Linked DNA regions of Homo sapiens: all the other regions are linked to region 1. Evidence: promoter capture Hi-C in 16 types of primary human blood cells and fetal thymus (Javierre and others, 2016). All regions are on one chromosome and are shown on one strand. The core of a region is centred on a gene start or on the middle of the fragment in contact, and the rest is flanking DNA. Distances in the headings are between cores, read along the strand shown.

Region 1 (4,116 bases), core at 636-3,135:
AATTCCCAAGGGAGAACCATCAGGCAGCCTGCTGTAAAGAAGTCGATGCACCCCTTCCCCCAATTTATTACTGAGCAGTATCCTCTACCCATGTACCTCCTTGGGCTTAAGACTCTAAAAGGGTGCACCAAGAGATCAGATTGAAAGAAGCCTCAGAATAGAGTTATAGTAATATTCCACAGTTGCTTTCTGTGGGGTCTTAGGTGAGCCAAAGTCCCATTCAATCCTGAAATGGGTGCAGTTTCCCTTTCTTGGAATTGATGCACTGGGAAGCTCCTTGTCTAGTTCCAGCCAAAAAGACCCAACTCTGCCAATTCCTGGCAAGGGAGAAGACTGAGTAAGTACATAAAGTCAGTCATATGATGATATGAGCAATCACACACCTACTAAAAATCTCCTTCCAGTGATACTGGGTAAATACGAACTACACAACTCCAGTAGTCACATCTGCTCACAGCTGGAATCAAGGCCTAGAAGTTCAAAGTTTACTAACTACACAAAGTTAGTTCATTGTTTTAATGGAGAAACAAAGACAATAATATTCCTTATACACACTTAGCACCAAACAATGGGCCCTTACAAACTCACGTACATGAGATACATGGATTGGGTTATTCATCAGTCACTATTTCCTATTGAAATTGGTTATTGGATATCATGGTTCAGCCCCTACCTACCTAGATGTGGCTTTAAACAAACTATTAATTTAATAGTTTGATTTAATTAATGTAATACTTAAATCTTTAAACCTTTCTAGCCCACAGACTTCTTAAACTACAATATGCAGAATGCAGGCTGCTTATTCAAATTAGAAATACTATATGTAAACAGTCTCTAATAGAGGTGCTATATGATATGGTTGACATCGTTATCAACCGTATGATAGCTGTGAAGTTTATATACAGAAAAGATTTATGGGCAGTAACACTATTATGGATGCATACAAAGGATTTGCAGTAATTATGTAGCAAACAACACACTTTTACTTGGATTAGGTTTATATTAGGTGCTAGAGAGACCAATGGATATCATGGGAGATGACAAAAGATACTGATTTCTTATTGGCAGAGACAGTTGGAGGACCACAGCAATGGATACAACCAAGTGTAAACGCCAACATATACTCAGTAATTTTTTTTTTGTCATGGAAAAGGAGAGATACTGCGATCAAAAACAGATCCTCTCCCAGTACCAATTAAGATTCACAGCACTTTTTCCTTATTAACCTCTGGAAACCACCAAAATAAGAAGGATTTCTGTTTGCTGCTGTATTCTGTTCTTACAAACTGTGCCCTCGGGGTAGCATAAGAACCTGCTCTAATTCCAAGGGAATTCAAGGAGTTAACTCCCTTTTGCCATCCCGCTCCTTTTATTAAAAGGTCCTTTTATTGTACTGACGATCTCTACTTTATTAAAAGTAAGCCAAACGCCAGCATTAGTATAGACCACACCAATGCACAAGGCTCAAAATCGCCAGAACATGGTGCCGGAAATCTTCCTCCGATTCGCTAGAGACCGAGGTGGCACAACAGACACAGAGAGTGCCCCTCATCTTTAGGGGGCAGGGAAGGCGAGTGACCGTGCGTCCACACGGGCCGCGAGTCGGGTCGGTGCAACAGGGACTACGCCTCCCAGCATGCAGTGCGGCCACGCCTGCGCAGCGGCGCCACAGGAACGATGCATGCCGGGACCGGGAAGATTCAGTCTCTGAACGGCCCGGAGTAGTCGTCTTTCCCCTTCTGACTGCCGCCACGCTGCAGTCCAGAATATTTGAAGATCAAACCGAACTTGAGAGACTAACGAGAACGGTCCCTTTTTATTCCTAACAGATTCCTTCCGTGGCAAAGTAACCCGTCGTCTTCCGTTTCCGGTTGCCCGGTTGCCCTGTTGCCGTGGTAACCGCACGCATAACAGCCGTGGTGGTTATGGCTGGTCTGAGCGGCGCGCAGATCCCCGACGGGGAGTTTACCGCGCTAGTGTACCGGCTCATCCGCGATGCCCGCTACGCCGAGGCGGTGCAGCTGCTGGGCCGAGAACTGCAGCGGAGCCCCAGGAGCCGTGCCGGCCTGTCGCTGCTAGGCTACTGCTACTACCGCCTGCAGGAGTTCGCGCTGGCGGCCGAGTGCTATGAGCAGCTGGGCCAGCTGCACCCGGAACTGGAGCAGTACCGCCTGTACCAGGCCCAGGCCCTGTACAAGGCCTGCCTTTATCCGGAGGCCACTCGGGTCGCCTTCCTTCTCCTGGATAACCCCGCCTACCACAGCCGGGTCCTCCGCCTGCAAGCTGCCATCAAGTATAGCGAGGGCGATCTGCCAGGGTCCAGGAGCCTGGTGGAGCAGCTGCTGAGTGGGGAAGGGGGAGAAGAAAGTGGAGGCGACAATGAGACCGATGGCCAGGTCAACCTGGGTTGTTTGCTCTACAAGGAGGGACAGTATGAAGCTGCATGCTCCAAGTTTTCTGCCACACTGCAGGCCTCGGGCTACCAGCCTGACCTTTCCTACAACCTGGCTTTGGCCTATTACAGCAGCCGACAGTATGCCTCAGCACTGAAGCATATCGCTGAGATTATTGAGCGTGGCATCCGCCAGCATCCTGAGCTAGGTGTGGGCATGACCACCGAGGGCTTTGATGTTCGCAGTGTTGGCAACACCTTAGTTCTCCATCAGACTGCTCTGGTGGAAGCCTTCAACCTTAAGGCAGCCATAGAATACCAACTGAGAAACTATGAGGTAGCTCAAGAAACCCTCACCGACATGCCACCCAGGGCAGAGGAAGAGTTGGACCCTGTGACCCTGCACAACCAGGCACTAATGAACATGGATGCCAGGCCTACAGAAGGGTTTGAAAAGCTACAGTTTTTGCTCCAACAGAATCCCTTTCCTCCAGAGACTTTTGGCAACCTGTTGCTGCTCTACTGTAAATATGAGTATTTTGACCTGGCAGCAGATGTCCTGGCAGAAAATGCCCATTTGACGTATAAGTTCCTCACACCCTATCTCTATGACTTCTTAGATGCCCTGATCACTTGCCAGACAGCTCCTGAAGAGGCTTTCATTAAGCTTGATGGGCTAGCAGGGATGCTGACTGAGCAGCTTCGGAGACTCACCAAGCAAGTACAGGAAGCAAGACACAACAGAGATGATGAAGCTATCAAAAAGGCAGTGAATGAATATGATGAAACCATGGAGAAATACATTCCTGTGTTGATGGCTCAGGCAAAAATCTACTGGAATCTTGAAAATTATCCAATGGTGGAAAAGGTCTTCCGCAAATCTGTGGAATTCTGTAACGACCATGATGTGTGGAAGTTGAATGTGGCTCATGTTCTGTTCATGCAGGAAAACAAATACAAAGAAGCCATTGGTTTCTATGAACCCATAGTCAAGAAGCATTATGATAACATCCTGAATGTCAGTGCTATTGTACTGGCTAATCTCTGTGTTTCCTATATTATGACAAGTCAAAATGAAGAAGCAGAGGAGTTGATGAGGAAGATTGAAAAGGAGGAAGAGCAGCTCTCTTATGATGACCCAAATCGGAAAATGTACCATCTCTGCATTGTGAATTTGGTGATAGGAACTCTTTATTGTGCCAAAGGAAACTATGAGTTTGGTATTTCTCGAGTTATCAAAAGCTTGGAGCCTTATAATAAAAAGCTGGGAACAGATACCTGGTATTATGCCAAAAGATGCTTCCTGTCCTTGTTAGAAAACATGTCAAAACACATGATAGTCATTCATGACAGTGTTATTCAAGAATGTGTCCAGTTTTTAGGACACTGTGAACTTTATGGCACAAACATACCTGCTGTTATTGAACAACCCCTCGAAGAAGAAAGAATGCATGTTGGGAAGAATACAGTCACAGATGAGTCCAGACAATTGAAAGCTTTGATTTATGAGATTATAGGATGGAATAAGTAGTTATGACTGATAGTGGCTTTTTTCAAAATGGCTTTCTTACGTACCACACTTTTTTTTATCTGTATTTAGCCTTGGCATCTTTATATTTGTCTTATTTTGAATCTTATCCACTTTGTAAGAACAAGTTTATGTTTGAGCAACTTTTTCATTTAATCCAGAAGGGTAGGGACTATGCAGTGTAAGCTGCATCACT
Region 2 (4,116 bases), core at 967-3,466, 100 kb before region 1:
CACCCCACCACAAAATAAATGTTTTTCCTAAAAGAGATAGCAACAAAACCAGTCTGTCGGAAAAGAGCATCTCCCATCAGGATGGGCCTGTTTTATGACTGCCACCTTGCATACCGTGCTGTTAAAGTGAATAATAGTGTTCTCCGTGTGACCTTAAATCTGTGATTGTGTATTTTTCCAAGCCTATTGTCTCTGGGAATGGGGAAATGCATAGTTGTGTGTCACTGCTGAACAAATTTTGGCACCACGTACAACAGGACAAGCAAATTATAAATATATGCCCCAGCTTCCTAACCTTTAACCCTAAAATCACTTCACGGGTGGAAAATAAACTTATTGACTCAGCATTGTGTTTTGCAAAAGTATTCAGGTTCATGTGTAGGTAACAAAGCGGTTTTGTTCCTTTAGAAATTAAAAAAAAAAAGAACTACTGTGTAGGACAGGCAAATTGATATAAAATGATGAACATTTTATTCACTGGGAACCCTGTTAATGACTTATTAATTTGTTCCATGCCTCTGGTCTGAAATTTCACATTTATAAATTTGAAAGCTTCAATGTTATTCTTTGTTTTTAAAAAGATATTTAGATAGTTAAAATTTCCCAAATACTTTGAATTCCTCTGACAAATACAGTAGGTAGTGACAGTTATTATTTGTGGTTAAAATGAGGAAGAAAACCTGCAGATGAATGATCATCATATAAATTTTCTTTACTAATAGAAGTTTATAGAACAAATATTCCATCATGCACATACATAATAAATAAATTATAACTATAAATACATGATAAAAGATGAGGGACATATTTCTTATATTCACGATGTAGACTAGATATCGGAAATGACTCTGCTTTTGTTTGTATTCTGTAAAATAAAAGGCATGTAGTGGTGCCAAGGTTGCAGAGACATTTTTTTCGGTTTTATAAATGATGTATGAGCTCTGACAGATTTTCCAAGGGGAAAAAAAAAGATTTCTTTAAGAGTCAGTATTCTTTACTATCCCATAAATGTACTCATTAGCACTTTGAGCCATGCCCTGCATCCTGTAGGGTATCAATAAAGATTAATTGAATGAGTGAATTTAGTTTAGGGTAATATTATTCAAGGAACCATGTTGCTCAGTGTCCAGTTAAAAAAAGCTATAAAATGGTGAACAACTATTATTGCTTGAAATCTTGTTCTTTCTTCATATCACACTAAGGTTCAGCTAGGGTTCATATAGAATATTATGATCTTGCAGAATTCACTGGATATGAAAAGAGAAGAGCACATGATCACATTAAAATTTATGGTGGTGCAGGCAGCGTGGCGCTGGTGGGGAATTGCAGTTAAACACTAATAATAACCAAGTATCACAGCAAACACATTGACACCCCCTGACATTTACTGGGGGCTTCTTAAATCTTAATGTGGAGGTAGCGTGTTTAAATCCATATTTGTGTTGTCAACAAGGTTATTTTCAGAGATAAGCCAAACCATTTTATTGATAATTCAAACTAGAAAGCAGAAGGGATGTTTAGGGAGAAAATCCATCCTATTTACCAGCTTGAGGCTGATGTTCTGTCCTCTGACTGCAGTTTCCAGAAAAGTCCTTGATTTTTGAGGTAGAAAATTCATTCTGGAAGATCTTAGAAGCACAGCTGAAACTCCTCCCTCCCTGTCCAAGAAATACAGAACCAATTGAAATTTTAAATAAAATATTTTTACTCAATAATCAGAATCCTAATCTCAACAGAAATCAAATTCCTTTGTAGACTGTAACACTGGAAGTTACAGAGAGATCTAGATGTTTTGTTCTGTAACTGACTGAAATAAATTAATAAACAGTAATCATATTTGTAATCATCAAACATCATTTTTACATTGTATTTCCTTATCAAAAAAGTAGTAACTTGTTATATTTACTTTAAAATAAATGGCAGCATTATTGTAATACTATAATAAAATCTACATGATAGAATAACCAACTCTTTAATCTTCATGCAAATGTAACCTACAAGATGGCAAATTTTTAATTTAGAAAAGGAGTAATTTTTAAATGTTTTTGCAGAACATCAGCACCAGACACAATAAATTAACTATGGGGCTAATCAATTTGAATACTGTGTTTAAATTACATTTAAGACTCCTGTCTTTTAATCATTTAAAAAAGGTTTCTATTTTTCTTCTCTCTGACTGCATCTCAGAGCCCCAATTAGGCACTCCATGCTTCCAGCTGACATTGCCTTTATCCACATTTATTTTATAAAAGAAAAAAGGCAAAGCTGCACATAATTAAGAACCTGGTGTGCTAATAACCAAACATACAATTGGGCAGAAGGATAATCCAATCCATTTCCTCTCACAGGAGAGTAACCTCCATAACTCACTTTAAGCGCTGCCATTCATGAGTTATGGGTCATTCCCTTTCTAGTGAAAATAAATTCTCCCGCACCATCAGCCAGAGCTGGGTATTTTTCTTAGGACATGTAAATTGTAAAAGTGTATGAACATAATCATGTCCGACGTTACAGGGAAAGTATAACCTCTTGCTCACGGACATAGGCTTATACGTAAATGTATGTGGTTTCGAGGCTGGGGCTGCCTAGTTACAATATAGGATTTTTGATTAAAGTGAATTTATTCTTGAGATTTTTATGATGTTGGTAAACTGCTTAATCTGTCGCTTTGTGTTTTATGACGCCAGCCAAATCCTCCAGGTCAGGGAGACCCAGCAGCAGAGCCATGGTCATTTATCACAGCCTCCATTTTCCACGGTGTATGATTTCCTAGTGGCACTTTCTTGGGACTGAAACCTGGCACCTAAGGGTGTTAAGTTGGGAGCTATAAAAAGTTTTAAATTTTCATGGGTCTCAAGTTTAGTTTCGGCTGAATTATGGCTAATAAAAATTTGAGCTTTGAAGAAGCCTCAAATTCTTGAAATTCACCAACCTGGGCTCTGTGGCACTTTGAGAGATCTGTCTTTCTACACAATTAATGTGCAGCAAGTGATCTGCTTCATTTTCTGTGGTCATAAACCATATGTTATATTATATGCAGTTCACTGGTAATTTATCAGAAATAAAATATAAATTATATTTCTAAACATGGACAAAACATACCGTCCTTGTCCTCAAAAAAAATCATAAAGCACAAATATTGTTAGGGTTGAAAGCTAAGTCCTTAAGAATCTGATATTTTTCTTTTGGTTCCTTTTAAAATGCATTATATGTGCTATATACATACAGCTATGTTTATTTATTATCTTTTGATGTAGAAACCTCCACTTTCTCAAGTCTTATTATTTAGTTGAAAATTTCCTTATATTATTTGTATATCTTTTTGTACATTTTATCAAAATAAGACAGCAGAAATATATTGAGCAAATTTTATTTGACCACATTAGGACTTCTTGAGAATGAAATAGTGTTGACAGATACCAGAGGTTTGCTTTGAAATACGCTAGCAAACAAAACAAAACAAACACACACTGCATGTGAAGAGACAGATGAAACAAGCCGCAAAACCTGGATTCCTGCTGAAGTTAGGCAATGACTGCACTGGGTTCATTATATTAATGGTATTCTATTTTTTGTATGTTTTTAACTCTCCAAAATAAAGAATTTGAAATTTATGCTAATAAACAGGTTAAAAATTAAGCCTTAGAAGTGGTTATAAATGTAATAGAATATAATAATAAAGTTATATATAAAATTAATCCAATTTTTAAATGTATGCATCAAACATCTACGCAACATATGTAATTGTACTGGACTGTGTTGCCTTTCTGAGACTTACATACACAAGCACTTGCAACCGTAGTTGAGGCTAAAGGGTCAACATATTCCCAAAACATGACTAAGGTTTTATGATTTGATAGTAAGTGCCTTCAGAAGCTTCTGGTTGGGAAAGAAAGTCATTTATATATAGACTGTAAGGTTTTTCCAACTCTGAGCTTGGTAAGGAAAGGACCAGTTAGGCCTAAATCAATAGTTAATTAATGCCAAATCAATATTTGGTTGCATTCATCTTGAAAAGAAAGATAAGCAAATTCAATCAAAACTATCCCGTTCCCATGAATAATTAGACAACCTGCAATTGGCTTGTTACATTGCATACTCTGGTAAAGGAGACAT
Region 3 (4,116 bases), core at 1,180-3,679, 86 kb before region 1:
AAGACAGGCTTGATGCCTGGCTCTCTCCATCCTTGTTCCTATTTCTAGGAGACCCAGCCATGCTTGTGAAAATTGGGCTACTTCAGAGTTCCTGGTATCATTCAATCAGCCTTCCTTTTAGTGAAGCTGGTTGTACTCCACTTCTGTTCTTTGCAACTAACACTTCCTGAGACAATGAGAAGAACTACAGTTTATTTATTGTTTACTGTGTCTTAAGCCCTTACCAACATCAACTCTTTAGAGTTGATATTCTTGTCTCCATTTTACAGGAGGAACTGAGCCTCAGGAAGGTAAGTAAACTTGCCCAAATCCATTCATGTGGTAGACTGGAGCCTGGACCAGGGCTGTCTGTTTTCAGAAGCCATTCTTTAACCACTGTATCACACTCTGGTCCATGACTTTGTGACATCTATTTTGAGTTGTTGAGCTTCCAGTTTATTGGCTGCCTTTCCAGATATGTGAGCTCTTGAACTAAAATATATTTTGACATCCAACAGTTCAAAGACATGAAGCCATAAAAATTATAAAACCAAAGTAAACCTTACTAGCTATGTTTTACACTTCCTCAATTTTACAAAAAAAAACAAAAACCGAGGTCCCCAAATCTCAGGTTGCTTGTATAAGACTGAACAACATTCACACATATGAGGTAGGTATTGAGTCACTAGTACTAGATTTCAGAGAGTTTTTTTGCATCCTCACATCACATGATCAAATCTGCCTATTCCAAGGTAGTGTGATGCGTTTTTCTCAAGACAATTAACTTTGTACGCAGTTTATCAGCTCATGGGATGTCAGGGGCACTGCACCTACCTTATGGAGTCATTTTTGCACTTAGGACACTTAATGCCACCATTACCCAACCTCCGTTAAGATTTCCCTTGACGATGAATGCTGAAAGAGGCTTTTTAGCATCATGGTCAAGGAACTACCTTTTTATTGATTAGAATGAGATTTATTCAGTGAGTGTGCCATTGTTGAGAAAATCCCTTGCAAGAAACCTATCTTCTTTTCTTGTTTTTTATTTCCCAGTAAGTGAGTATTTTCTATATTCAAGATGCTGTGCTAGGAATTGTGGGAGAAATAAAGAGATATAGCAAACATCCCTTCTCTTAAAGTGCTCCCAGTCGAATTCTAGTCTTTGAAGTGATTTGAAAATGGGATTTAAATGCACCAATTATTATGCAGCAAAGTATATGCTACCTTTTTTTCATATATAAGGCTATAAAAAAACAGGAGACATTTAGCAAGGGACAAATTACTATATAAAATGCAAAATGCCTCTACAATAAAAAGTGTGGCTTTCGTTAGAGCACAATTTGATTTATTCTCTTAGCCTTTCTGACAAGTGATCCTTCGCATTTTCATATTTTGTTCTTAATTTTTAAGTATTGGAGTGCATACAATGAATGATCAATAGGTAGAGAGGGCAGCAATACCACAGTGCTTTGAAATTGCTCTGTTCACACCTCTCCCCTGTTTTCTCTAGGGACAGCGTTCCCCACTCATCCTTCTCTCTATTACAGCTGCCCCTGATGATTAAATATCAGTACCAAGCAGCTTTGTAGTATATTCTCCTAGGAGACTTCTTCTATTCATTTCTAGCATAATCTCTTATACTCATTTCTTGGGAATGAAAACCCATCTTGTCGCTTTCGGCCAGGTCCCAGAAGTGAAATACTGGGGCACATTAATCTGCCATGACAGCCTAATCCCATTCCTCACCATCTCCCAACAACTCTCAATTTCCTAATTACCTTTCATAGTTTTCCTTTTTAAAGTTTCCTTTAAGTCACAGCTGCACACTGCCATTCAGTCTCTTTTTCAAAGAATATGCATATCTAGGGAAGTTATGAAGGTACATTTACATTTGCACACATTTTTGGTGCCTGTGCAAAGTGCCAAATGCCTATAGGGAAATTTCCACCTTGACTTTTCTTTTTAATAAGTTTCTCCTCATTGAGCTGCCTATCCAAAATGAAAAGCTTTAGTATGTTAAGATGACCTACCATCAATAATGCACATCATGAATACTTACATGTATAAAGGTATTTGTACTTATGGAATTTGGATTCTCTTCTCTTCCTCTCTCCATACACCCTATGTATATATAATCATATTTTCACAACTAAAGGATGTGTGCCCCAAAGACACTTATATGATGGATATACTTAGCACAAACAATTAAAATGAGGTGTGCTGTTAAAGTCAATTTTTTCCATATGTGATTGATCTCAGGGTTTTTTTTTCATATTTTATGTGAGAAAGTAGAAGCATACCTTTATAAGTGGAAGTGTATTATGTGAGAGACATGACCTCTTTAAAAATGGTTTTACAATCAGCCAGGCACAGTGGCTCATGCCTATAATCCCATCACTTTGGGAGGCCGAGGCGGGCAGATCACAAGGTCAGGAGTTCGAGACCAGCCTGGCCAACATGGTGAAACTTTGCCTTTACTAAAGATACAAAAAATTAGCTAAGCGTGGTGGTGCATGTCTGTAATCCCAGCTACTTGGGAGGCTGAGGCAAGAGAGTCGCTTGAACCCAGGAGGTGGAGGTTGCAGTAAGCCAACATCGCGCCATTGCACTCCAGCCTGGGTGACAGGCGAGATTCCGTCTCAAAAAAAAAGAGGTTTCACAATCAATTAAAAGTAGATAATGCTGCTTGTTATGTTCCCCTCCCACAAAATCACAATGCATTTTCACATATTGCCGCCTCTGGAAAATCCTTACCATAAATAAACAGATTCACTTTTTAAAGCCAGCATTTTCCAAACTTATTTGGCCACGGAACCCTTTTTACTTCTTCTCTTAATGCCATTTAACATTCAGAAGAACTAGTATTCTGTAGAATACTTTTTGATAAAGCTTATCTTCACAGATATGTTTTATTTATTTATTTTTTTTGCCACTTATATCAAGACTGTAGACTTGGCTCTTGGTGGTCCCAGGAAGTTCCCAGTGTGTAACAGCAGATACAGGCAGCATTCCTAATGGGCCTTGGCCTGAGACAAAAGGCACTGAGGGCTTTGGCAGTCTAGAAAATCTGCCAGGGGCCAAATCTAATAGTGTAAATAAGGGATCCATTTGGAAATGGAAGTATTCTTGCTTAGATGGTTTTACTTTAAAAAAACCCCTCAAAGTTGAGTTAGTACCATGCTCCATTCTCTGAGGGCTAAGATGGCACCTTGTTTGCAGAAAAGTGAGCATTTTTAGTGCAAGGTTGATCAGAGAAAAATTCCTGACACAATTATAGGGGATTGTGAGCTTCCTGAAGGTCAGAACATGTCTTATTTCTCTTTGTATTCCACATGCCTGGGGCCTGACATAATAGTTATCAATGCTTATTGGTTGAATGAATGATAGATGAATGAATGAATAACAAAGTCTCCCCACACTTTCATGGCATTAGTCTGGTTCAGTGGCAAAATCTACCTATTTTCTGTGATTGAATCAGTATTGTGTGAGGCTGGGCAGAAAGTAAGATGGAATTACAAAAGAGAACAAAGAGGGAATCTGACGAGGAAGATGGTCAAACCATAGACAGTGGCTGCCTTTGCACAAATACTGGGAGATAGAACACACCAGATCGGAGACATATGGATATGGGAGAGAGGCCTCCATCCTACGCACAGGAAGGAGCAGTGCCTCAGAAGCCATGGTGTATTTGTTAAAAGCTGTTGTTATCGTCCCCATCCCCACTCCCTTAAAGGAGAAAACATTCCTTATTCACCAAAACAAAGAAGATACAGAGTGACTTCTGATCATCTAGCTGATGCAGCTTTTGTGGAGTCTGTTAACCCAACATGAATAAGGGAAGAGATAACATTTTGTATCTTGACTAGATACAAAAGATTCACACTAGTAAGTGAGGTGCATGTGAGCATGGCTGATTCATAGGAATGATCACAGGAATCAGCCTGTGGTTAGCAATGATACTAATAGAATTCTGAATTAGATTTTGAAATCTTCTTTCATTGATAACAATCAGCTTAGTAAAAATGGAGAATCAAATGTCAGAAATGTATGTTATAATTATCATTTTCATTATGTAACAAGAAGCTTAAAAACTTGGATTCAAATCTGGAACTGGTACAAGCTAGCTGTGTGACCTTG

What was found. The method cuts DNA at HindIII sites, captures the fragments that hold promoters and counts their contacts. A CHiCAGO score of 5 or more calls a contact.
Region 2: a fragment that was not itself captured here is called in contact with the fragment with the promoter of IFT70A in region 1 in 1 of 17 cell types (megakaryocytes); the score reaches 6.2 in megakaryocytes.
Region 3: a fragment that was not itself captured here is called in contact with the fragment with the promoter of IFT70A in region 1 in 1 of 17 cell types (megakaryocytes); the score reaches 5.6 in megakaryocytes.

What each region holds. Positions count from the first base shown.
Region 1 is chr2:177,616,511-177,620,626 of GRCh38, reverse strand. IFT70A (intraflagellar transport 70A) reads left to right here and starts at 1,885. Exons shown (of 1, transcript NM_152275.4): 1 at 1,885-4,116. The coding sequence starts at 1,926. The coding sequence ends at 3,923. IFT70A-AS1 (IFT70A antisense RNA 1) reads right to left here. Exons shown (of 3, transcript NR_198966.1): 2 at 3,107-3,326; 3 at 1,389-2,339. RefSeq lists an enhancer at 1,583-1,812. The HindIII fragment of the contact is 8,599 bases long and covers 1-3,061 here.
Region 2 is chr2:177,720,631-177,724,746 of GRCh38, reverse strand. All of the region lies in intron 12 of PDE11A (phosphodiesterase 11A), which reads left to right. PDE11A-AS1 (PDE11A antisense RNA 1) reads right to left here. Exons shown (of 5, transcript NR_136171.1): 5 at 1,458-1,658. Among named protein-coding and RNA genes, the nearest start is that of PDE11A-AS1, 49 kb to the right of the region's middle. The HindIII fragment of the contact is 3,324 bases long and covers 555-3,878 here.
Region 3 is chr2:177,703,364-177,707,479 of GRCh38, reverse strand. All of the region lies in intron 13 of PDE11A (phosphodiesterase 11A), which reads left to right. The region is part of intron 4 of PDE11A-AS1 (PDE11A antisense RNA 1); the gene reads right to left. Among named protein-coding and RNA genes, the nearest start is that of PDE11A-AS1, 32 kb to the right of the region's middle. The HindIII fragment of the contact is 883 bases long and covers 1,988-2,870 here.